4 separate regions of the Homo sapiens genome follow, and regions 1, 2 and 4 are each linked to region 3. Evidence: promoter capture Hi-C in 16 types of primary human blood cells and fetal thymus (Javierre and others, 2016). All regions are on one chromosome and are shown on one strand. Each heading gives the region's core, a stretch centred on a gene start or on the middle of the fragment in contact. The rest is flanking DNA. Distances are from core to core; before and after follow the strand shown. Region 1 overlaps TNFRSF1A (TNF receptor superfamily member 1A). Region 2 overlaps LOC105369625 (a long non-coding RNA gene). Region 3 holds the start of VAMP1 (vesicle associated membrane protein 1). Region 4 overlaps ZNF384 (zinc finger protein 384).

Region 1 (5,435 bases), core at 939-3,438, 140 kb before region 3:
TAAGAAACTTGCCCAACGTCACATAGCCAGTAAGTGGCTATGCTGGGGTTCAAACTCTGAGAGCCCTCAGAGTTTATTCTTTGCAAGTGAGTGACAAGAACAGCCTCTGTGGAGCCAGGAGTAAGGAGGCCTGGACAGTGACTAATGAGGAAATACCATATTGCATCAAACCTAAGACGCCATCAAGAATAAAAGGCACTTTTCTTTACATTACTACCCAGACGCAAACAGAGCTGCCAATTCAACCATGATGAGTCACCAGTTATAGGAGGTTTGATTTCAGAGCTATAAGAGTGTATGTCCTAGAACCAATGAGCTATCGTAGATCCAAGAATCTACATATCTGAGTTGGAAGGGCTGCCAGCCCTTGGGGCATGATCTTCCATCCTCAAAGACTTCTTCAGATTTGAAGAGCAAGGGGAAGGACTGCCTGGTGTCTTAACGAAGTGTCTCCTACTCAGCCAGTAGGACCCTGAGCACTCTGGGGCATCCTGGCATCTGTTGCCCAGCTAATGGTTCCCACCAGTCACCCGTCCCAACCCATGCCACCATCCAGTGCCCAGCAGCTCTCAGAGATACTCACTTACTACAGGAGACACACTCGTTTTCTCTTAGAAAGAAACCTGCATGGCAGGTGCACACGGTGTTCTGTTTCTCCTGGCCTGTAGGGAGAAGTGCGGCACAGCTAAAGGAGAAGCGCCTGCACCCCCACCCCACAGGACAGAGGAAGTGACGAGGGACAGGGTGGGGGCGGCCAGAGAGGAGTTGGTTGTCAGACCCACAGAATACAGGAGGGGGAAGGAAAGGAAGTGCCACCGCATGGGGAAGGGGCCAACCCCTGGGGTGGGGAGAGGGCTTGGCCTCAGGAGAGCTGCGCTCACAGGAGAGGTGCACGGTCCCATTGAGGCAGAGGCTGCAATTGAAGCACTGGAAAAGGTTTTCACTCCAATAATGCCGGTACTGGTTCTTCCTGCAGCCACACACGGTGTCCCGGTCCACTGTGCAAGAAGAGATCTCCACCTGACCCATTTCTGGTGAGGGGAGAAGATGGGGTATGAGTCCTGCATCCTCCTGTCCCTGCATCCCCTTCCTGACATACCCCTAAGTGTGTGTCTCTGTAATACACACTCACATCCATGCAGTGTCCCACCAAAACACACACCTTCCTGCCCACACCCACCAGCCTGCACATAGACAGGCACCCACACACCACTCAAGACCCGCCTGACTCTCCTGCCTGTGCACACTCACCCTTTCGGCATTTGGAGCAGCTGAGGCAGTGTCTGAGGTGGTTTTCTGAAGCGGTGAAGGAGCCGCTCTCACACTCCCTGCAGTCCGTATCCTGCCCCGGGCCTGGACAGTCATTGTACAAGTAGGTTCCTGTGAATGGGGCCGCAGAGTTAGGCTGCGGGTGAGAACACAAGGAAGGAGCCCCATGCTAGGGACAACAGCCAGGGCCGATTCCCTGAAGTCTCTAGGAGAGGAGGGAGGGAGAAAATCCCAGCCCAGGAGAGACAGCAAAGTTAGGGAAGAACAACTGGAAGAAGCAGAGAAAGAAGCAGCACCCCAGACCTGAGGGCATTCACCGTTTCCACTTGCCCCTACCTTTGTGGCACTTGGTACAGCAAATCGAATTATTTTGAGGGTGGATATATTTTCCTTGGGGACACACACTATCTCTCTTCTCCCTGTCCCCTAGGTGAGGGACCAGTCCAATAACCCCTGAGGGGTATATTCCCACCAACAGCTCCAGGAGCACCTGGGGAAGAATCAGATAGAGGAGACACCATCAAGAGAGGGAGGGATGGGAAGCTTAGGGGTAGCAGATCTAAAACTTCCCTGGCTCAAGTCCTTCCTCAGTGAAACATTCCGCCCAGGCCACGCCACTCACTAAGTTTAGAGTTCTTCCTTGAAACTTAGACAGTTGGGGCCATACAATCTGATGCTTAATTGTTCTCTAGTTGTCCTGTGTGTTCATTTTTGTTCCCTCAACTCAAAGCTAGTAGGCCCCAGATCTAAGCTGTATTTTTTTTTTTTTAGGCAGGATCTTGCTCTGTTGTCCAGGCTGGAGTGCAGTGATGCAATCACTGCACCCTCCACCACCCACGCTCAAGCAGTCCTCCCACCTTAGCCTCCTGAATAGCTGGGACTACGGCCGTGAACCACCATGCCCAGCTAATTTTTTTTTATTTTTAGTAGAGGCAGGGTCTTGTTACGTTGCTCAGACTGGTCTCAAAATCCTGGGCTCAAGTGATCCTCCCACCTTGGCTTCCCAAAGTGCTAGGATTACAGGCGTGAGCCCAGCCCTGTATTTTATCCTTACTGTGAAATCCCCCACAGCAGCTAACAGTGCTGGACACAGGGCAGATGTTGAAAGGATGTGTTTTTGATTGGGAATTGGCAGGTTACTTCAGTGATGGCCCCTTCTTCCAACAAGCAGCCCTAAAGATTGGGGCGGTGTTTCTCCATCTGGGTGCTGGGTTCACCGTGTGATCGCTTTGCGAACATTCACAGAGGTAAACAATGAGGATCTATGCACATCCCAGGAATATGTTACACCATGAAAAGCTTTCTGAAAAAGTCAGCTGGCGGTGGGGGCGAGTGATGTTCCCGTGAGCACCACTCCTGGGGAGTGGACAGAAGAAGGAAGTTTATTTACATGTTTGTATCAAACCTCAATCTGCCTCCGCCCTCACATTCCCTGGCCCATCCCCTCCACCTCAAAATTTACAAACACCCGGGGTTGGCAAGGACAAATGGGGAGGAGAGTAAAAGGGAAAGGTTGGGGATCCTGCATGGGTAGACGGGGGACAAAGTTGAGACGGGGGCAGGAGTGGGCAAAGGTGTGCAGGACATAGGCAAATAGAGCTGGCCAAGGCTAGCGACCCAGCTTGGATGACTGTCAGGTCAGAGCTGAGGGCGTGCTGGGGAGTCCTGGAGCCCCCTGCACACCATGGCATTCTGGAAGGTGTGCTTTGCAGTCTCAGGCCAACCCCACAGCAGCTAAATGGCTTGTCCTGTTCCGGCATCAGTGCCAGGAAAGCAAAGCCAGGAGTGAATATTTAGCTCTAACTTGGACTTTGATCTCTGCCAGCTTCATTTCTGGTTTTCCCTGGGCTTCATTTTTTTTTTCTACTATAAGAGACACTTTGTGTAAAGATAAGAGGGTGTCCTCAATGTCTGTTAAACACTGGGGAGCAACTGACTCACCAGATCACAGAAACCCTAGGGCAGGGAAGGAGGGTCAGGCAGCCCACAGCCACCCAGCCTCACCAACTCCACATTTCGGAGCAGGAGGCCAGTCACCCTGAGTCAGCCACGGGGAGACGCTGCAGCTGTAAGCTGTGCAGGCCCGGAAGTTCAAGCCTCAGCCGCAAACAGGGGAAGCCACACACAGAAACACAACAGCAGCCCCCGCAGGTGGAGGCGTGTGCCCCTGCTCAGAGGACAACAACCTTCCCCTGCCCGCACCAGCCAACACCGTGCCACCTCTGCTGAGAACAGGACTGGGGCTTCCAGGGCAACAGGAAGGGTTTGGGGTGGTGATGGGAAGAACTTCCCAGTCCTGAAAGTGTGGTTCCTTTCCCCGAAGAAGCCACTGGAGCACCTAAGGTCACTGGTACTTTGAATCCCATCCAGGGGGCTTGAGGCAGAGTCATGATGAAGAACTGGGGGACGCCAGCCCCAGACAGCCTTAAAGGGAGCTTTTCAGGGACCTCTGGCCAGTGGGGGATGAGCCTCCCTGGAGGGAGGGAGGGAGAGAGGCTTTCTCAGGCCACGTGTTCCCTTCTCTTTCCAGCACTCTGGGGGTTAAGTCAGATCCGGGAAAGGGAAATCTTTTCCCAGCAACTCCGCCCCAGTGACTCAGGCCAGAGGGAGGGAGACCTAGGGAGGGGAGAGGGAACTAGCAGCTTCCCCAGCTCCTCAAGGGTCATGAGTCAGCAGAAAGGCAGAAGGCACCAGCCTGCATGCAAGTGGGACTCCATCTAATCCCTTCTTCCTATGGCCAAGTCCCTCCTTCCCATCCCCACTCAACCCCCATCCATCCCCTCCCCATGCAAAGAGCCAGGCCACAGACCCTTGTCCCACTTGGCCCACATGTTCCGGGAAATGCCTCCCTCTCCCCATTCCATCCCGAAGGGAAGTCTCCCTCGACCCTGGCTTCCGCCCATCAGGTCTGTGCCCTCCCTTCCCTGAGGGCCACTTGGCTCCTCCTAGCCCCTCAGCGGCCTTTAGCTGAGGCCCCGCCCCAGCTCCTCCTCCCAGTTCAACAAGTCTCCAACAGCTAAACCCATTCCGTGAGCTCTCACTCCATCCCCCAACACTCCCCAGTCCCAGCAGGAAGCAAGCCAAGGCTGCCCTCCCACCCTGGGTTCACCGCATTCCCACAGCCTGGCTGGTTCTGACCAGTTGTGCTGGGTTTGGGGGCCTCCCTGGGGTCCCCAGACAATCCTTAGGAAACAAGGCCAGTTCTGAGTCTCCACAGACCCTCCCCAAGCCCACTGGCAATACAGGAAAGCCTCCAGAGCCCTGAACACCCACTTCCAGGAACGAGGGAGCAGGCAAGAAGGGATGCCGGATGGAAGAACCAGCCCTGCTTCCTAGGCTTCCCCTGGCCCCCAGAATGCTCCAGGTCAGCCCTCTCTGATCCCTAGGAGCCAGGGCCCTCAGACTCCCCACCACTGGGCACCACTGCTGGCACCAGCTGGCCCCAGTAAGCCCAGTCCTCAGCAGTTGCGTAAATGAAGCAAAACAGGAGAAACAGGAGGTGAGCTCTTTAGGCCCAGACTCCAGCCTGGAGCAGAAGGGCAGGAAGCTGGGGTGCCTGTGGAGAGACAGTTGAGGGGGTGGCCCAACACCCCTCCAACTCCCCCACAATTTCCGCCAGAGGAGGCTTTAAAGTGTGACTTCCTGTGCTGGGGCTGCAGAGTGGGGAGGCGACGCTGAGATCGGCCTTGTGGTCTGACCCCGATCCAGCCACCTTGCAGGGACCCAATTAGTCTTCCTTTCCCCCTCATTCATGTGTCTGTTCATTTAATGTCAAGGTGTTGGGGGAGGTCGTGGCAGCTTCTCCTCCAAGGGCCCAGTTGAGATCCCATCTCCCTCCCGTGAAGCCACCATTGACGATGTCTGTTTCCTCCACCCCGGCTCCTTAGACCCATAGTCCCTGTGAACTCGAAGCACGTGAACTGACCCTATCTACTTTTGGCTCTTATCATAATATGGTTATGTTGGGTGACAGATATGATCTCCCCAAAGTGACCACGAACCTTATAAGATGAGAGATCAAAAAATGTCTTGGTCAGAAAGTGTCTTATCCTCCCCTGGTGTCCTCTCAGCTCCCAGAACCAGACCTCCAGACTGGGAGCAGATAAATATGGATCAACTGATCGATCTAATGATACATCTGTCTTCCACTCTAGTAGAAGCCAGTG
Region 2 (5,584 bases), core at 1,826-4,325, 180 kb before region 3:
GGTGCCCACCACCACGCCCTGGCTAATTTTTTTGTATTTTTAGTAGAGATGGAGTTTCCCTGTGTGTTAGCCAGGAATGGTCTCGTTCTCCTGACCTCGTGATCTGCCCGCCTCGGCTTCCGAAAGTGCTGGGATTACAGGCGTGAGCCACCGCGCCCGCCTGTTTTCCTTTTTTTTATTGTATAGCTATCCTAGTGGATGTGAAGGGATATCTCATTGTGGTTTTGATTTCCATTTCCCTAATAACTAATGAAGTTGACCATCCTCTCATGTGTTCATTAGCCATTTCTATATCTTCTTTGAAGACTATTCAGATGCTTTGCTCATTTTTCAAATTGGGTTGTCTTGACTGTTGAGTTGTAAGAGTTCTTTGTATAGGCCGGGCACGGTGGCTCACGCCTGTAATCCCAGCACTTTGGGAGGCCAAGGCGGGTGGATCACCTGAGTTCAGGAGTTCAAGACCAGCCTGACCAATATGGTGAAACCCTGTCTCTACTAAAATAACAACAACAACGACAACAACAAAAAATAGCCGGGCGTGGTGGCGGGCACCTGCAGTCTCAGCTGCTCGAGAGGCTGAGGCAGGAGAATCACTGGAACCCAGGAGGTGGAGGTTGCAGTGAGCCGAAATTGCGCCATTGCACTCCAGCCTGAGAGACAGAGCGAGATTCCATCTCAAAAAAAAAAAAAAAAAAAGAGTTGTTTGCGTATTCTGGATGTTAGGCCCTTATCAGGTAGATATTTTGCAAATATAGTCTTCCATTCTGTGGATTGTCTTTTCACTATCTTGTTGGTATCCTTTAACCTACAATGTTTTTAATTTTAGTAAAGTTTGATTTATCTTATTTTTTCTTTGATTCTTGTGCTTATTTCTAAGAAACCATTTCCTAATTCAAAATCATAGAGATTTTCACCTGTTTCTCCGTTTTTTGTTTTTTGTTTTTTTGAGACAGGGTCTCCTTCCGCTGCCCAGGCTGGAGTACAGTGGTGCGACGTCGGCTCACTGCAGCCTCAACCTCCCAGGCTCAAGTGCTCCTCCCACCTCAGCCTCCCAAGAAGCACACCATCATGCCTGGCAAATTTTGTTTTATATTTTGTAGAGACAGGGTCTCACTATGTTGCCCAGTCTCCACCTATATTTCCTTCTCAGATTTTTATAGTTTTAGCTCTCACATTTAGATCTTTGATATATTTTGAGTTAAGTTTTACGTATGGTATGATATGAGTTCAAATTCATTCTTTTGCATGTGGACATCGATTTGTTTCAGCATCATTTGTTGAAAAGGCTATTCTTTCCCCCACTGAATGGTTTTGGTAATGTTGGTAGAAGTCAATCGACCATAGATGAGTGGACTGGATTCTGTTCCGTTGGTGCATGGACTGGATTCTATTCCATCCGTGTGTGGACTGGATCCTGTTCCGTCGGCGCGTGGACTGGATCCTCTTCCGTCGGCGCGTGGACTGGATCCTGTTCCGTCGGTGTGTGGACTGGATTCTATTCCCGTCGGTGTGTGGACTGGATCCTGTCCCGTCGGTGTGTGGACTGGATTCTATTCCCGTCGGTGTGTGGACTGGATCCTCTTCCGTCGGTGCGTGGGCTGGATCCTGTTCCGTCGGTGCATGGACTGGATTCTGTTCCGTCGGTGTGTGGACGGGATTCTATTCCCGTTGGTGTGTGGACTAGATCCTCTTCCGTCGGCGCGTGGACTGGATCCTGTTCCGTCGGTGTGTGGACTGGATTCTATTCCCGTCCGTGTGTGGACTGGATTCTATTCCCGTCCGTGTGTGGACTGGATTCTGTTCTGTCGGCGTGTGGACTGGATCCTCTTCCGTCGGCGCGTGGACTGGATCCTGTTCCGTCGGTGTGTGGACTGGATCCTCTTCCGTCGGCGTGTGGACTGGATCCTGTTCCGTCGGTGTGTGGACTGGATCCTGTTCCGTCGGTGTGTGGACTGGATTCTATTCCCGTCGGTGTGTGGACTGGATCCTGTCCCGTCGGTGTGTGGACTGGATTCTATTCCCGTCGGTGTGTGGACTGGATCCTCTTCCGTCGGTGCGTGGGCTGGATCCTGTTCCGTCGGTGCATGGACTGGATTCTGTTCCGTCGGTGTGTGGACGGGATTCTATTCCCGTTGGTGTGTGGACTAGATCCTCTTCCGTCGGCGCGTGGACTGGATCCTGTTCCGTCGGTGTGTGGACTGGATTCTATTCCCGTCCGTGTGTGGACTGGATTCTATTCCCGTCCGTGTGTGGACTGGATTCTGTTCTGTCGGCGTGTGGACTGGATCCTCTTCCGTCGGCGCGTGGACTGGATCCTGTTCCGTCGGTGTGTGGACTGGATCCTCTTCCGTCGGCGTGTGGACTGGATCCTGTTCCGTCGGTGTGTGGACTGGATCCTGTTCCGTCGGTGTGTGGACTGGATTCTATTCCCGTCCGTGTGTGGACTGGATTCTGTTCTGTCGGTGTGTGGACTGGATTCTATTCCCGTCGGTGCGTGGACTGGATCCTGTTCCGTCGGTGCATGGACTGGATTCTGTTCCGTCGGTGTGTGGACGGGATTCTATTCCCGTTGGCGTGTGGACTAGATCCTCTTCCGTCGGCGCGTGGACTGGATCCTGTTCCGTCGGTGTGTGGACTGGATCCTGTTCCGTCGGTGTGTGGACTGGATTCTATTCCCGTCCGTGTGTGGACTGGATTCTGTTCTGTCGGTGTGTGGACTGGATTCTATTCCCGTCGGTGCGTGGACTGAATCCTGTTCCGTCGGTGCATGGACTGGATTCTGTTCCGTCGGTGTGTGGACGGGATTCTATTCCCGTTGGCGTGTGGACTAGATCCTCTTCCGTCGGCGCGTGGACTGGATCCTGTTCCGTCGGTGTGTGGACTGGATTCTATTCCCGTCCGTGTGTGGACTGGATTCTATTCCCGTCCGTGTGTGGACTGGATTCTGTTCTGTCGGTGTGTGGACTGGATTCTGTTCCATCCGTCTGTTTATCTATCCTTATGCCAATATCACATCGTCTTGATTACAGTAGCTTTGTAGTAAGTTTTGAAAATTAGGAAGTATGAATCCTTTAACTGTGTTCTTTTTCAAGTTTGTTTTGTTTATTTTAGGTCCCATGCAATTCTGTATGAATTTTAGGATCAGCGTGTCCATTTCTGGGGTTTGGGGGGACAGTTTCTATAGAGATTGCATTGAATCTGTAGATAAATTTGGTATCAACATCTTAACAATATTAAGTTTTTAGACAATAAACATAGGCTGTCCTTTGATTTTATTTAGACCTTGTTTAATTTCTTTCAACAATATTTTTCAGTGTACAATTATTGCATTTCTTTGGTTAAATTTATTCCTGGCAGGGCGCAGTGGCTCACGCCTGTAATCCCAGCACTTTGGGAGGCTGAGGCGGGTGGATCACGAGGTCAGGAGATTGAGACCATTGTGGGTAACACAGTGAAACCCTATCTCTACTAAAAATACAAAAAATTAGCCAGGCGTGGTGGCGGGCACCTGCAGTCCCAGCTACTTGGGAGGCTGAAGCAGGAGAATGGCGTGAACCCGGGAGGCAGAGTTTGCAGTGAGCCGAGATGGTTCCACTGCACTCCAGCCTGGGCGAAAGAGTGAGACTCCGTCTCCAGAAAAAAAAAAAAAAAAAAAAAAAAAAACGCTTATTCCTAAGTATTCTATTCATTTTGATACTATTCTAAGCAGACGGTCTTCTTAATTTCATTTTCAGGTTATTCATTGCTAGTGCATAGAAATGCAACTGATTTTTGTACATAGAAGAGCCCGGAACTAGTAATGTAAGTGATCTTGTATCCTGCAACTCTGCTGAACTGTTTTATAGCTCTAATTATTTTTTGTAGATTCTAATTATTTTTGTAGATTCCTTAGGGTTTTCTATATATAATATCACGTCATTTGCAAACAGAGATAGTTTTACTTTTTCCTTTCCATCACACAAGTTTTTCTAAATGCAGGATGACACTTTGTGACATTGATATGCTAACGAAGAGCATTCATCTAATTGCAAAGGGTTTGTTCAAGTAGTGTATCTTAGTGACACACCAGAACCTATGACTCAGGACCAGCATTTTACAACCTTAATGTTAGAAATAAAATACCAGGATTTCTTGAACTTAGAACTCTGGCACAGTTGCAACATCAACGCTTTACTATTTCCCAACATTGGATTTTTTTTTAGAAAGAAATCAAAAACATATTATTGAGTATATTTTAAAACCACTGAGATTAAAAGGTAAACTTCATGTTATGTATATTTTACCACAATAAAAAAACAGTTGAAATTCAACATCAGAACATGAAGTACTTTCCAACGAAGCCAAAGGTTGGATAAGAAATCTATTTTCCACCATCACCCAGGGTTAAAACAATCTTCCAAATTTTGAATGTAGTGTACTTACAGATGTAGTTCCTGGTGGTGTGGCAAATCACCTTCCCCAAGAATGTCCACCACAGTAGTCTGACACCAAGCTGAATATAAACAATCTAATGAAGATGACAATGTCCTTCTCCTTGATTTAAAACAGAGACACTGTTGTTACTTTTTTCGTGTTTTAATACATTATTTTAAAATTTGAGACAAAATTTCTTCTGAGACAGGGTCTTGTTCTGATGCCCAGGCTGGAGTGCAGTGGTGTCATCATAGCTTACTGCAGCCTTGACCTCCCAGGCTCAAGCAATCCGACCACCTCAGCCTCTGCAGGCAACTGGGACCACAGGTGGTGCACCACCACACCAGCAGTGACAATTTTTTTTTTTTTTCCAAGACAGGATCTCACTCTATCACCCAAGCTGGAGTGCAGTGGCATGATCTTGGCTCACTGCAACCTTCGCCTCCCGGGTTCAAGTGGTTCTCCCACCTCAGCCTCTCAAGTGGCTGGGATTACAGGCGCCCACCACAATGCCCGGCTAATTTTTGTATTTTTAGTAGAGATGGGGTTTTGCCATATTGGCCAGGCTGGTCACGAACTCCTGACCTCAAGTGGTCTGCCTACCTTGGCCTCCCAAAGCACACAGATTACAGGCATGACCCACTGGTGGCGCCTAGCTGACAATTTTTTAAGTTGACCCAAAATTTTGGCACTTTGTGTGTATTAAACACCCATTAAAATGACCCACGAAAGCCCAAGTTTGAGACATTTATTTGATAGAAAGAGCACTGGGTGGCCAGGCGTGGTGGCTCACACCTGTAATCCCAGCACTTTGGGAGGCCGAGACGGGTGGATCACCTGAGGTTAGGAGTTCGAGACCAGTCTGGCCAACATGGTGAAACCCTATCTCTACTAAAAATACAAAAAAATTAGCTGGGCGTGGTGGCAGGTGCCTGTAATCCCAGCCACTTGGGAGGCTGAGGCAGGAGAATTGCTTGAACCCAGAAGGTGGAGGTTGCAGTGAGCCGAGATCCTGCCATTGCACTCCAGTCTGGGTGACAGAGCAAGACTCTGAAAAAAAGAAAGAAAGAAAGAGAGAGAGAGAGAGAGAGAGAGAAAGGAAGGAAAGAAGGAGGGAAGGAAGGAAGAAAGGAAAGAAGGAGGGAAGGAAGGAGGGAAGGAGGGAGGGAAG
Region 3 (5,296 bases), core at 1,108-3,607:
TATGCTTCACACAAGATGAGGAAATCAGGGCTGCCATAAGGGCAGCTTGGAAAATCACCAAAGGCAAAGTCTATGTAGGTGGAGTGAGTCAGGACTGTTTGTTTGCTTTGTTTTTGGCAGAGAAAATGGGGGTTTCACTTAGATAGAATCTGGGGCCCAAAGCAATTACATTAGTTATGGAAACTGTTCCAAGAGCATAGACAGGAAGCAAAAATGCTAGAAATTGTCCTCAATGTGCATGCATTATAGACATTCTGTCCCTTCCTTTTCTGGATTTGACAGTCTCAGATGACTCCCTTGGTTACTTACATCCCAAAGAGAGATCTTGGTTTACTGTACTATACACACAGAGAATGTTCTCTCATTCTGTACCACTCAAAGTTAGTGTGTGGTCTTCAAGACAAACTCCTCTCCATGTCCCAAAACATGGAGGCTAAACTCACCTCCTAAAGAATTCCCAGAAGTATAACCTAAGTCATGAGATGTTCTCGGCCAAGGAAGCACCCACAGGCAGGGGGGAGATCTCTCAAATTTGATGGAGAATAGAAATTACAGTAAGAACTCCTCAAACAGAAGCAGAATCTCACCAAACATACTTCACAGGAGCAGTCCAAGAGTAAATGCAACAAAAATGAAACCACAAAGTCACCTAAAAGGAAATTATTTGACTAATTACAATAGAACTAATACCCAGAAGCTCATTCTCCTTGATTAAGTGAATTTCTTTTAGTCTAAAAAGATAGAGAATAACTCCTCAGAGAGGCTATGGTAGCAGATTACACCTGACTCATTCCCCATTTGAAGAATCACTTTTCCATTTCCCTCTAAGGTGCAAAGGAGGTAAAGCAAAGATAGACACAAAGTCATGGGAGCCACAAGACTCTTGTCCTGCCACTGAGCTAGCTAAGCAATCTAGCTCTCGACTTAAGGCAGAAAATTCAATGAGTAGGTAGCAGCCAGTGTTGGAAGCAGTCCAGGATGGTAGCACCAATGACAAGATTAAGGTCAGAGACCTCGTGATGCCCCGCTAGCCACCACGATTTTTCTGTTGCCTTCTGTTCATCCCACGTAGATACTATCTGGAAGCCCCCTCCCCAAAATGAAAACAACTGGAATTCTACGGCTTGCCCAAAATGCATAGAACACTCATATCTGGTTAAAACCATAGAAATCAAAAAGAAAAAGTGAAATGGCTATGAAGTATTTGCAAGGCCAATTTCACTTACTACTTGTTGGGAGTTGGAAACACTCAACAGTAAAATATCTAGGGATAATTACAACCCTTATGTAACACAAGTAAATCTTTCCCTTTTTTGTCACTTAGAGAAGCAACATAAATACATCTAGGACCAGGCCAGGGTAGTAATCAGAAAGAAAAATCTGTATTAGACATATTGAGGTCTTGACAGAGAAGTACTTCGTTTGTTTAGCCGTAGTTTTCCCTCAAGATCATGCGAAGGGGGTGATGTTGAAGACTGCTGGAGACTAAACTGTGTGTGTTGGAGGAAAGGGGGAAAGCTCAGCTCTCCCTATTTCTCCTCCAACTATTTGGTAAGACTCGGTGATAGAAAAACATCTCCTATACGAATGGCCTTGGTATGAACAGCCGCTTGGGATGACAGGCCACTATCCCACTACCCCTTGAGTCTTTCTGAGCTGCTCACCTGGTGCCAGAGAACTGGCAGATAAGTTTCTGCAGCTTTGCTCACTGCCATGAGGGGGGCTAGACATCACACTTTGGGTGAGGGGTAAACAAATCCAGAGATTGTAGGGCAACATAAGTTACCAACTGGCAGTTGCACCCATGACTGTCTTTCCTGAGGCGCTGAGTAGTGATTTAGCCAGATGACAGAAATACCTTTCGAGTCCCCTGCCCAGTTGTCTCCATCCACCACCCCCAGCCCCCGCCCTCTCCGAGTCTCCACTATACCAAAACCAGAATGAGGCGCCACTCAGACGAGAGGAGAGGGTGCAATGATTGTGGGACCCCTGCGCCCCTGCCCCGCCCGTGGGGTGCTAGCTGTGGCTGGTGCGAGAATGGGGTGCTGGCCCCCCTCCCTGGGGGTGGCCCGGTCCGGAAGCGGCGCGCGGTGGTAGTTCCCCGCGTTGCTGCAGCTGCTGCATTGCGCCATTTTCCGTCCCGCAGAATCGGGAGCTTGGGGCGAGAGTTGTCAAGGAGGTGCCGAGCCCCCACACCAGAGTCAACTCACATTTTTCTGACAGAGAGAGTGAGGGTCTGTTCCTCTCCGGAGGCTGCGGCGAGACACCCGGTGAGGGACGCTGCGGCTGAAGTGGACGGAACTGCCAAGCTCCGCCTCGCGCCGACTACCCCGCGGTCTAGCTGCGCTGGAACTTACTGCAGCTGCCGCGCCGGCCTCCGCCTTTATTAGTGCTGACCACGCCTCCCGGATAACGGTGACAACCCCGCGGCCCAATCCATGCCCAGGACGGTCGCCCAGCGCTACAGGCCTAGCCCGCCCCGCCCCTGCCAATTGCCAGTCACAACTCTCCTCTCATCCGACTCCGGAAAGGAGCGGTTGCTGTGAGGATCCTTCAGTGATCAATGCGACCATAGTTTGCGCTCCAGTCTGGCGGAGGGACGGGGCGGGGTGGAGATGAGGTCTGTCCCTTCGGAGGGCGCTTCAGCAGTTTGTTAGGCATTTGTGGTGCCTCCCAACCAATCGCTAGGCAGTTACTGAAGACCGTGCCCGCCCCTGCCCCACCCCGCGCCGGGACTCGCGCATTCAGCTGGAGGCGGCGGCTTCCTGGTGCGCGCCCAGCCCTGGTGCCCTGCTCTGGCCCTCGCTCCGCACCACCGCCCCGCCTCTAACTAACGCTCTGAGAGGGTGCAGGAGCCTCGAGACACAGCCACAAGCTCCTGGTGCCAGATACCGGATGCGGGGTTCCGTCCCACCAAAGCAAGCACGAAGCTTTCGTTCATTCGTTTCTTTCAACATAGCCTTCCTAAATTGAACTCCCTCCCAAACCTGCTCCAGTCGAGGTTACCACATCGACTCAGTTGCCCAGACCAGAAACGTGGAAACCATCCTAGATTTCCTCCCCTTCACCTTTACCTCTCCCCCAGTAATCTGCCAAATCGAGTTGATTTTTCCTTCTTGGCATTCCAGTGATTATCTCCCCTCTGCTCACTATTATCCCTTTCCTGGACTCCATCAGTTGGAAAATTCACCATTATTTTATGTCCCGCTAAGAAAAAAGGTTACAAGGCCGGGCGCAGTGGCTCACACCTGTAATCCCAGCACTTTGGGAGGCCGAGTCAGGCAGATTACCTGAGATCAGGAGTTCGAGACCAGCCTGGCCAACATGGCGAAACCTCTGTCTCTACTAAAAATACAAAACAGCCAGGCATGGTGGCGGGCGCCTGTAATCCCAGCTACTCGTGAGGCTGAGATAAGAGAATCGCTTGAAGCCGGGAGCCGACGGTTGCAGTGAGCCGAGATCACGCCACTGCACTCCAGCCTGGGCAACAGAGCAAGACCCTGTTTCAAAAAAAAAAAGAAAAAAGGTTGCAAATTATCTGTGACAAATGCTTTCCTTACCACTTAGCATTTTTGTTTTACATGTATTGAAAATATGGGTTTATATACATACCGATTTCTATATTTCACTCTTGTGCATGCATAAAAAGGGAAATAGAAAACAATAACATGGTAACTATCCCTAAAACTTCACAGAGACTGATTGTTAATGATTCACTTTTTTGACTCAGTCTTGGATGTCCACTAATTTCCACGCAATGTAGTCCTCTGTGCATTTCATAAGGGCTTTGGTGATGCAGCATTTCCTAAGAGTGTTCCTCTCCAGGCTCTAGAGTTTTCTTCCAAGCCTCAGACACCCATTTGGCAAGCTTTGATGCTCATGAGCAGGTATGACAAATATAGTTTGACTGCTGTCTGACTAATAGCTAAAGTGAAACATCCCAATTAGAAGATATTGAAATGCAAAAAAACAAACAAACAAGCACACACAAAAAACCCAAGTGCCTCCTAAGATCAATGATACATCATTCTGCTTCCAGTCTTGCCATCCTTTACATCTATTCTCTAAAAAGTCCACCAAAGTTATCTATCCAAATGTCACAAGTCTTCTTAAGGAAACAATTGCACTTGGAAACATAATGCATTCATCATATGTGTTTATCCCATTCTCCTCCTGAAACCACATCAAAATGGCAAGTTAGGGGGAAAAATGACAATTTGGGAAAATTTGCAAAAAATTATAAGCCCCCAAAGACAAAAAGAATGGGGCCGGGCGTGGTGGCTCACTCCCGTAGTCCCAGCTATTTGGGGGGCTGAGGCGGAAGGACAGCTTGAGCCCAGATGTTCCGGTTGCAGTGAGCCGAGATCACGCCACTGCACTCCCACCTGGGTGACAAAATGAGACCCTATCTCCAAAAGAAAAGAAAAAGGGCCAGGCGCAGTAACTCACACCTGTAATCCCAGCAATGTGGGAGGCCAAGGAGGGCGGATCACTTGAAGCCAGGAGTTCAAGACCAACCTGGCTAACGCAGCAAAATCCCGTCTCTACTAAAAATACAAAAATTAGCTGGGCATGGACGCCTGTAGTCCCAGCTACTCGGGAGACTGAGGCAGGAGGATCACTTGAACCCGGGAGGCGGAGGCTGCAGTAAGCCGAGATCTTGCCACTGCACTCCAACCTGGGCAACAGAATGAGACTGTCTCAAAAAAAAAAAAAAAAAGAAAGAAAGAAAGAAAAAGAAAAGAAAAAAGAATGGGAGGAAATATTTCTGGCAGCATGAATGCCTATTTATTCCCACCAACTTTCCCCTGAAAAAAAACTTAAAATCATTGAATGGTGACTCACGCCTATAATCCCAGCATTTTGGGAGGCCAAAGCAGGAGGATCACTTGAGCCCAGGAGTTCAAGACTAGCCTGGACAACATGGTGAAATCCTGTCTCTACAAGAAATAGATACAAAAAAATATAGCTGGGTATTGTGGCACACACCTGTAGTTCCAACTACTTGGGAGGCTGAGGTGGGAGGATTACCTGAGCCTGAGGAGGTCAAGAAAGCAGTGAGCCATGATCACACCATTGCACTCCAACCTGGGCAACAGAGTGAGACCCTGTCTCAAAAAAACGGGGTTGAGGGGGTGGCATTTTTTAAACTTTTTTTTTTTTTTTTTGAGACGGAGTCTCCCTCTGTCGCCCACGCTGGAGTGCAGTGGCGCTATCTCGGTTCACTGCAAGCCCCACCTCCTGGGTTCACGCCATTCTCCTGCCTCAGCCTCCTGAGTAGCTGGGACTACAGGCA
Region 4 (5,739 bases), core at 1,888-4,387, 200 kb after region 3:
GGGGTATCAGAGCTGAAAGGATCTGTAGCCTGTAAACCCCAGGTTTACTAGTGTGCAGGTAGTAAGATACAGCAATAGAATCCGGGAAACTGCTCTAATTACAAAAGTCATGCTTTTCGGTAACTTGATCTCTGTGCCTGTTTTACTATACAATGAGACTACTACCTCCCTCATAGGGTTGTTGGAATAAGTGAGTGTGAGTGTATCCATAAAAAGAGTAGATTCTAGTTCTAATACTGGTGATGAAGTTAGGGCCATTAGGGCCTTTTCAAGAGTTGGTGAGAGTGGGAGGAAAAAGCAGTAAATATGCAGGGAGCTAAGAAACATTGGCATATTTGGTCATATGTGATACATTCATTGGTATTACACAACATATTGAGACACCATCTTAGGTGCCCACACAGGATATCTAGCACTAAATTAAGTGGGCTTTATTTATCCCAGCCCAACTACATAACAAGTACTATTGGCCAGCAGTCCCAGAGTTCTCAGGATGTGGGAGCTTGGTCACAACTTTCACAACTTTTTCGGTGCTTAAAGCAAGGTTTTTTTTTTTTTGTTTTTTTTTTTTTTTCCAGACAGAATCTCGCTCTGTGGCCCAGGCTGGAGTGCAGTGGTGCAATCCCGGCTCACTGCAACCTCCGCCTCCCAGGTTCAAGTCATTCTTCTGCCTCAGCCTGCAGCTGGGACTACAGGCGCGTGCCACCACACCTGGCTAATTTTTGTATTTTTATTTTACTTTTTTGAGAGAGAGTCTCACTCTGTCGCCCAGGCTGGAGTGCCATGGCACGATCTTGGCTCACTGCAACCTCTGCCTCCTAGGTTCAAAAGATTCTCCTGCCTCAGCCTCCTGAGTAGCTGGGATTGCAGGCGCCCACCACTATGCCTAGCTTATTTTTTGTATTTTCAGTAGAGACGGGGTTTCACCATACTGGCCAGGCTGGTCTCGAGCTCCTAACCTCATGATTCACCTGTCTCGGCCTCCCAAAGTGCTGGGATTACAGGCGTGAGCCACCGTGCACGGCCATCAATTTTTGTATTTTTAGTAGAGATGGGGTTTCACCATGTTGGCCAGGCTGGTCTTGAACTCCTGACGTCAAGTAGTCTGCCTGCCTCGCCCTCCCAAAATGCTGGGATTACAGGCGTGAGCCACCGCACCCAGCCTTAAAGCAAGTTACTTAATTCTCAAAAAAGGTATCTTCAGAGTTATCTAGTCCAATCCCTTCACTAACAGTTGAAGAAGCACCCTGGCCAACACTGGTTGATGGTAGGCAAAGGGCTGAAGTCCAGGTTTCATGACCACATTCTACTCCATAGTACTACAGCTCTCCTGCATAAATCAATCTTGCACCCCTTAACCGGTTATGATTTCCACAAGGTAACAAATACACATATGTATACACATTGCCAACTGCAAGCCCCTCTTCCACAGACTCAGGCAGGAGTGTAGGTCCTTTCAAGAGGCTTCCATTTTTCTTCCATAGGGAGCTTAGCTGTTTTGTTAACACATAACCAAAGCCTTGCTCTCACATATTTAGGCAATGCAATCCCCATGACAGAATGTGTATGTAGAAGTCCTCATAAACCAGGATTTCACTGGAGACATCATGAAACTGTACCCTTCCATGACTGGAGAATTGCACAAATGGGGCATCATCACACAAGCACTTGTTCATCACACACACACTCTGGTATAAATCCTCAGTACTGTTCTTGGACATCTCCCCAAATACCTTTTCCGCATGCTCGCTCACATCAGTAGCTCCACTGCCTCTGATCCTTTTACATGAATTTATTTCTATACAATGTTCTAAAAACACCCCTTGGTTTGTACATAAGTTTTTTTCTTTTTTTCTTCATTTTTAAATTACTTTATAACAACTGGTTTCCTGATTTTTTTTTTAATTTCCTTTCCTCTGAAATCTGCCATGATTTAAAAAAAAAAAAAAAAGACAAAAAGAAAAATGCTGTGGCTAGAGGACAGGGGTGGAGAGAGGGAAAAAAAGGACAAAAATAAACAAAACATCAAATATGAAAATTCTCAGAGATAATGCATTTATAAACACAGAAATGGTTACAACAAAGATGGCCGTGATGAGTGAGTATAATATATTTATATATATATATTTATATATAAATCCGTGTCCGGCATCTGACTGTGGCACCTAGGGAGCTAAGTCCAGTCCTTGCGTTTGCCTTGAACTCTCCCTTCTCCGCAACACCCCTGTTTTGGAGTTTCACAGATAACACAAAGCCTCCCACAGCTCCTTGGGGGTGGGTTGGGGAGACTGAGAGTATAGGGTCTTTGTAGGCAGAGAAGGAGAGAGGCTTCAAGGAAATCCGTAAAACCATAACACACACTTCTAAGCCACCTGTGACCAACTTGGGAATTTCTGGCCCCTTGGGGACCACATCTCAGCCCTTGCCCCCTTCAAATAAAAGGAGGTCTAGCCCCTACCCCAAATCTCCTTCTACCAGCAGTCAATAGGAAGCAAAGTGAGACGATGTAGGGGAAGAAATGGCTCTCAGGGACTGAGGCATTTGAGAAACCTCTGTTCTTTTGCAGGCAAGAATAGAACAAGAGGCTGGTTGCATTTGGGGCTCCCTTTTCTCTGTTATCTGGGAGGGCCAGCCTCTAGTCTTACATCAGCCCAAACTTTGAGGATAAGGAGGGTAAGGATAGGGTAAGTGGCCACACTGGACAAGGTTCTATGAGGTCATAGCAAATCCTTCCCTTGAGCACCGACCCCCAGTTTTAGAAGCTTTGCTTGGGAGGGGAGGCTGCTGGATGACACCATCAGCTCAGTATTCCTTTGCAATCAGGAGGGCTGATGTTCCTTTTGAAGAAGAGTTCAGAAAAAGGATGGTATCCTGTGAAGGAAAGCCGTGACAGAGGCCCAAGGAGATGGAGCCAAGGCCTGTCAAGGAAGAAAAGGACTTTTCCCACCAAGAGTTGGAGAAAGAAGACACCAGGACTACTTCTTCCTCTTCCCAGTGGGTGGCAGCACGGATCTCTAAGAGCTGGCCAGGTGCTCCACCTGGATGGTGCTGGTGGTGACAGTGAGGCAGATGTCCTTATGATGCTCCGCCGTCTTATACGGGGTCAGGTCAAAGGAACACTGGGGTGGAGGGTTGGGATTGCTGTCCCCACCACCCCCACCCTGGGGGGCTGCCCCAGGAGACTGGAAGTGTGGTGGTGGCTGTTGCTGCTGCTGCTGCTGCTGCTGCTGCTGCTGCTGCTGCTGCTGTGATGCCTGGGAGGCCTGGGCCTGGGCCTGGGCTTGAGCCTGAGCCTGAGCCTGGGCTTGAGCTTGAGCCTGGGCCTGGGCCACTGCTGCCGCTGCTGCTGCTGCCTGCACCTGTTGCTGAAGATCAGGCGGGTTGTGTTTGCGCATATGTTTCATAAGGTATGTTTCCTGAGGGAGATGGTAAAAAGAAGTTGAGGGATAAAGAGGAAGGAAAAGAGATTACTTGTAACTAGCACCCCAGGCTCTGATTCTGCTGTAAGCAGAGTAAGCTTTATACTGGTTTTCTGGAGCCAAGACTGAGCAAAACTCAAGTAGCACTTTCAGTGGCTCACTACTGAGAAAAAAAAGAGAGGAACCTTTAGAAGTCACTCAACATTCAACTGGCAAAGGAATGAGCTGCTATTTTTTTCAAAGACCCCTGAATGAAACAACTTTACAACCTTTTCTGGAGTCTCATGGAAAATATCTAACTGGGCCAGGTGCGGTGGCTCACACCTGTAATCCCAGTACTTTGGGAGGCTGAGGTAGGTGGATCACTTGAGGTCAGGAGTTTGAGACCAGCCTGGGCAACATGGTGAAACCCCATGTCTACTAAAAATACAAAAAGTTGCTGGGCATGGCAACATGCACCTGTAATCCCACCTACTTGGGAGGCTGAGGCAGGAGAATCGCTTGAACCCAGGAGGTGGAGGTTACAGTGAGCCGAGCCGAGATCACACCACTGCACTCCAGCCTGGGTGACAGGGCGAGACTGTGTCTCAAAAAGAAAAAAAAAAAAAAAAGAAGAAGAAAATGCCTAACTGAAATCCAGCTCCCCTCAAAATTTCAAGTGGCTTTATTTTGCCTTATGTTTAAGTAAAATGAAGAATTACAGCTTATGCGTCTCTATAGGATTAGGAGATCAGGCATCCCCTAAATTCCTCAGAATGGGTCTAATTAATTTCTGAATATTTACCTGTTCTGCTAAGTTGGAGCTAGGGAGGCAGGGTATTCACTGCAACAGATCTCTACCCAGAAAATGGGGTGAAGTGGACTGTACTCTTAGAGGACTATGAGGAAGGAGAGAAGAAACGGAGCACTCACTGATGTGTATGCCCGACTGCAGATAGTGCAGGTGTACACCTTGGCATGCTTCACTGTGTGCGTAGACAGGTGCACCTCTAGTGAGGCTGCATCCGTGTACGCCCGATGACAGTTGTGGCACTTGAAGGGTTTATCTTTGTTGTGTTGCCGTCTGTGGGACTGAGAAAATTGGGAGAAACCAGAATGAATACATTGTACTCTTTCCTCCTGCCCCCTTGACCTCGATGGAAAGCAAAAAGGTAGGTGTCAGGCCTCCCAGCTTCTCCCTCTATCTGAAGAAAGTAGAAATTGTTTCAAATGAAACTTGAGAAGCTACAGGCTAAGGGTGGAAGCATACCTCATGTAGCACATACCAGGATCCCAAGACAGCTTATGCCCGTCTCACCAGTCCAGTGGTTCTTAAAATGAGGCATGGGGATCTTTAGGGAACACTAAGACCTTCACAGGGGGCCCACAGGGTCAAAACTCTTTTTTTTTTTTTTTCCCAGATGAAGTCTCTCACTCTGTCGCTCAGGTTGGAGTGCAGCGGCACAATCTCGGCTCATTGCAACCTCCGCTTCCCGGGTTCAAGCGATTCTCCTGCCTCAGCCTGCAAGTAGCTGGGACTACAGGCACATGCCACCAGGCCTGGCTAATTTTTTTTGTATTTTTAGTAGAGACAAGGTTTCACCGTGTTGGCCAGGCTGGTTTCCAACTCCTGAGCTCAGGTGATCCGCCCGCCTCCGCCGCCCAAAGTGCTGAGATTACAGGTGTGAGCCACCGCGCCCAGCCAAATCTTTTCAAAATAATAAGACAATGTTTGCCTTTGTCTCTCTTGAACCTGGGAAGTTGCAGTAAGCTGAAATCACACCACTGCACTCCAGCCTAGGTGACCCAGCGAGCCTCTGTCTCAAACACGCACACGCGCGCGCGCACACACACACACACACACAAACACAAAGATGAAAAACCTAACTGAAATCTTGTTCCCCTCAAAATTTCAAGTGGCTTCATTGTGCCTTATGTTTTACATGTAACCCTTACAGAGGTTACATGATGTGTGATAACACAATAGGCCAGATGCAGCAGATCTGAGAATCTACTCATCTTCTAGCTTAAGACATTAAAGACCCCTGTGCCAGGTGCGGTGACTCATGCTTGCAATCCTAGCACTTTGGGGAGGCTGAGGCGGGAGGATGGCCTGTGTCCAGGAGTTCGAGACCAGCCTAGGGAAGATAGCAAGACCCCATCTCTACGAAAATGAAAAAAACAGCCAGGTGTGATGGTGCATGCCTAGAATCCCAGCTACTTGGGAGGCTGAGGTGGAAGGATCACTTGAGACCGGGAGGCTGAGGCTGCAGTGGGCCATGATAACACCACTGCACTCAGCCTGGGTGACAGAGCAAGGTCCTGTCCCAAAAATAAAAAA

The links. Contacts are between HindIII fragments. The CHiCAGO score rates a contact against its expected background, and 5 or more counts as called.
Region 1: a contact is called between a fragment that was not itself captured here and the fragment with the promoter of VAMP1 in region 3, in 17 of 17 cell types (naive CD8 T cells, total CD4 T cells, non-activated CD4 T cells and 14 more). The highest score is 61.1, in naive CD8 T cells.
Region 2: a contact is called between a fragment that was not itself captured here and the fragment with the promoter of VAMP1 in region 3, in 2 of 17 cell types (M2 macrophages and endothelial precursors). The highest score is 5.8, in M2 macrophages.
Region 4: a fragment that was not itself captured here is called in contact with the fragment with the promoter of VAMP1 in region 3 in 3 of 17 cell types (naive B cells, monocytes and naive CD8 T cells); the score reaches 6.2 in naive B cells.

Annotation. Positions count from the first base shown.
Region 1 is chr12:6,332,486-6,337,920 of GRCh38, forward strand. It overlaps TNFRSF1A (TNF receptor superfamily member 1A), which reads right to left. Exons shown (of 10, transcript NM_001065.4): 2 at 1,606-1,759; 3 at 1,252-1,380; 4 at 882-1,031; 5 at 584-662. Among named protein-coding and RNA genes, the nearest start is that of TNFRSF1A, 6.9 kb to the right of the region's middle. RefSeq lists enhancers at 1,837-2,707, 4,450-5,319, 4,636-4,725, 4,718-5,012, 4,786-4,835. The HindIII fragment of the contact is 756 bases long and covers 1,811-2,566 here.
Region 2 is chr12:6,288,677-6,294,260 of GRCh38, forward strand. It overlaps LOC105369625 (a long non-coding RNA gene), which reads right to left. Exons shown (of 5, transcript XR_001748979.2): 2 at 4,423-4,533. Among named protein-coding and RNA genes, the nearest start is that of PLEKHG6, 19 kb to the right of the region's middle. RefSeq lists a silencer at 4,713-4,923. The HindIII fragment of the contact is 7,609 bases long and covers 1-5,584 here.
Region 3 is chr12:6,468,320-6,473,615 of GRCh38, forward strand. VAMP1 (vesicle associated membrane protein 1) reads right to left here and starts at 2,358. Exons shown (of 5, transcript NM_014231.5): 1 at 2,211-2,358. The coding sequence starts at 2,212. It also overlaps a transcript of TAPBPL not described here. RefSeq lists silencers at 1,840-1,889, 2,390-2,439, 2,650-2,909. The HindIII fragment of the contact is 5,218 bases long and covers 1-2,928 here.
Region 4 is chr12:6,664,700-6,670,438 of GRCh38, forward strand. It overlaps ZNF384 (zinc finger protein 384), which reads right to left. Exons shown (of 12, transcript NM_001385745.1): 11 at 4,332-4,490; 12 at 1,778-3,416. The coding sequence ends at 3,015. Among named protein-coding and RNA genes, the nearest start is that of ING4, 4.4 kb to the left of the region's middle. The HindIII fragment of the contact is 755 bases long and covers 2,761-3,515 here.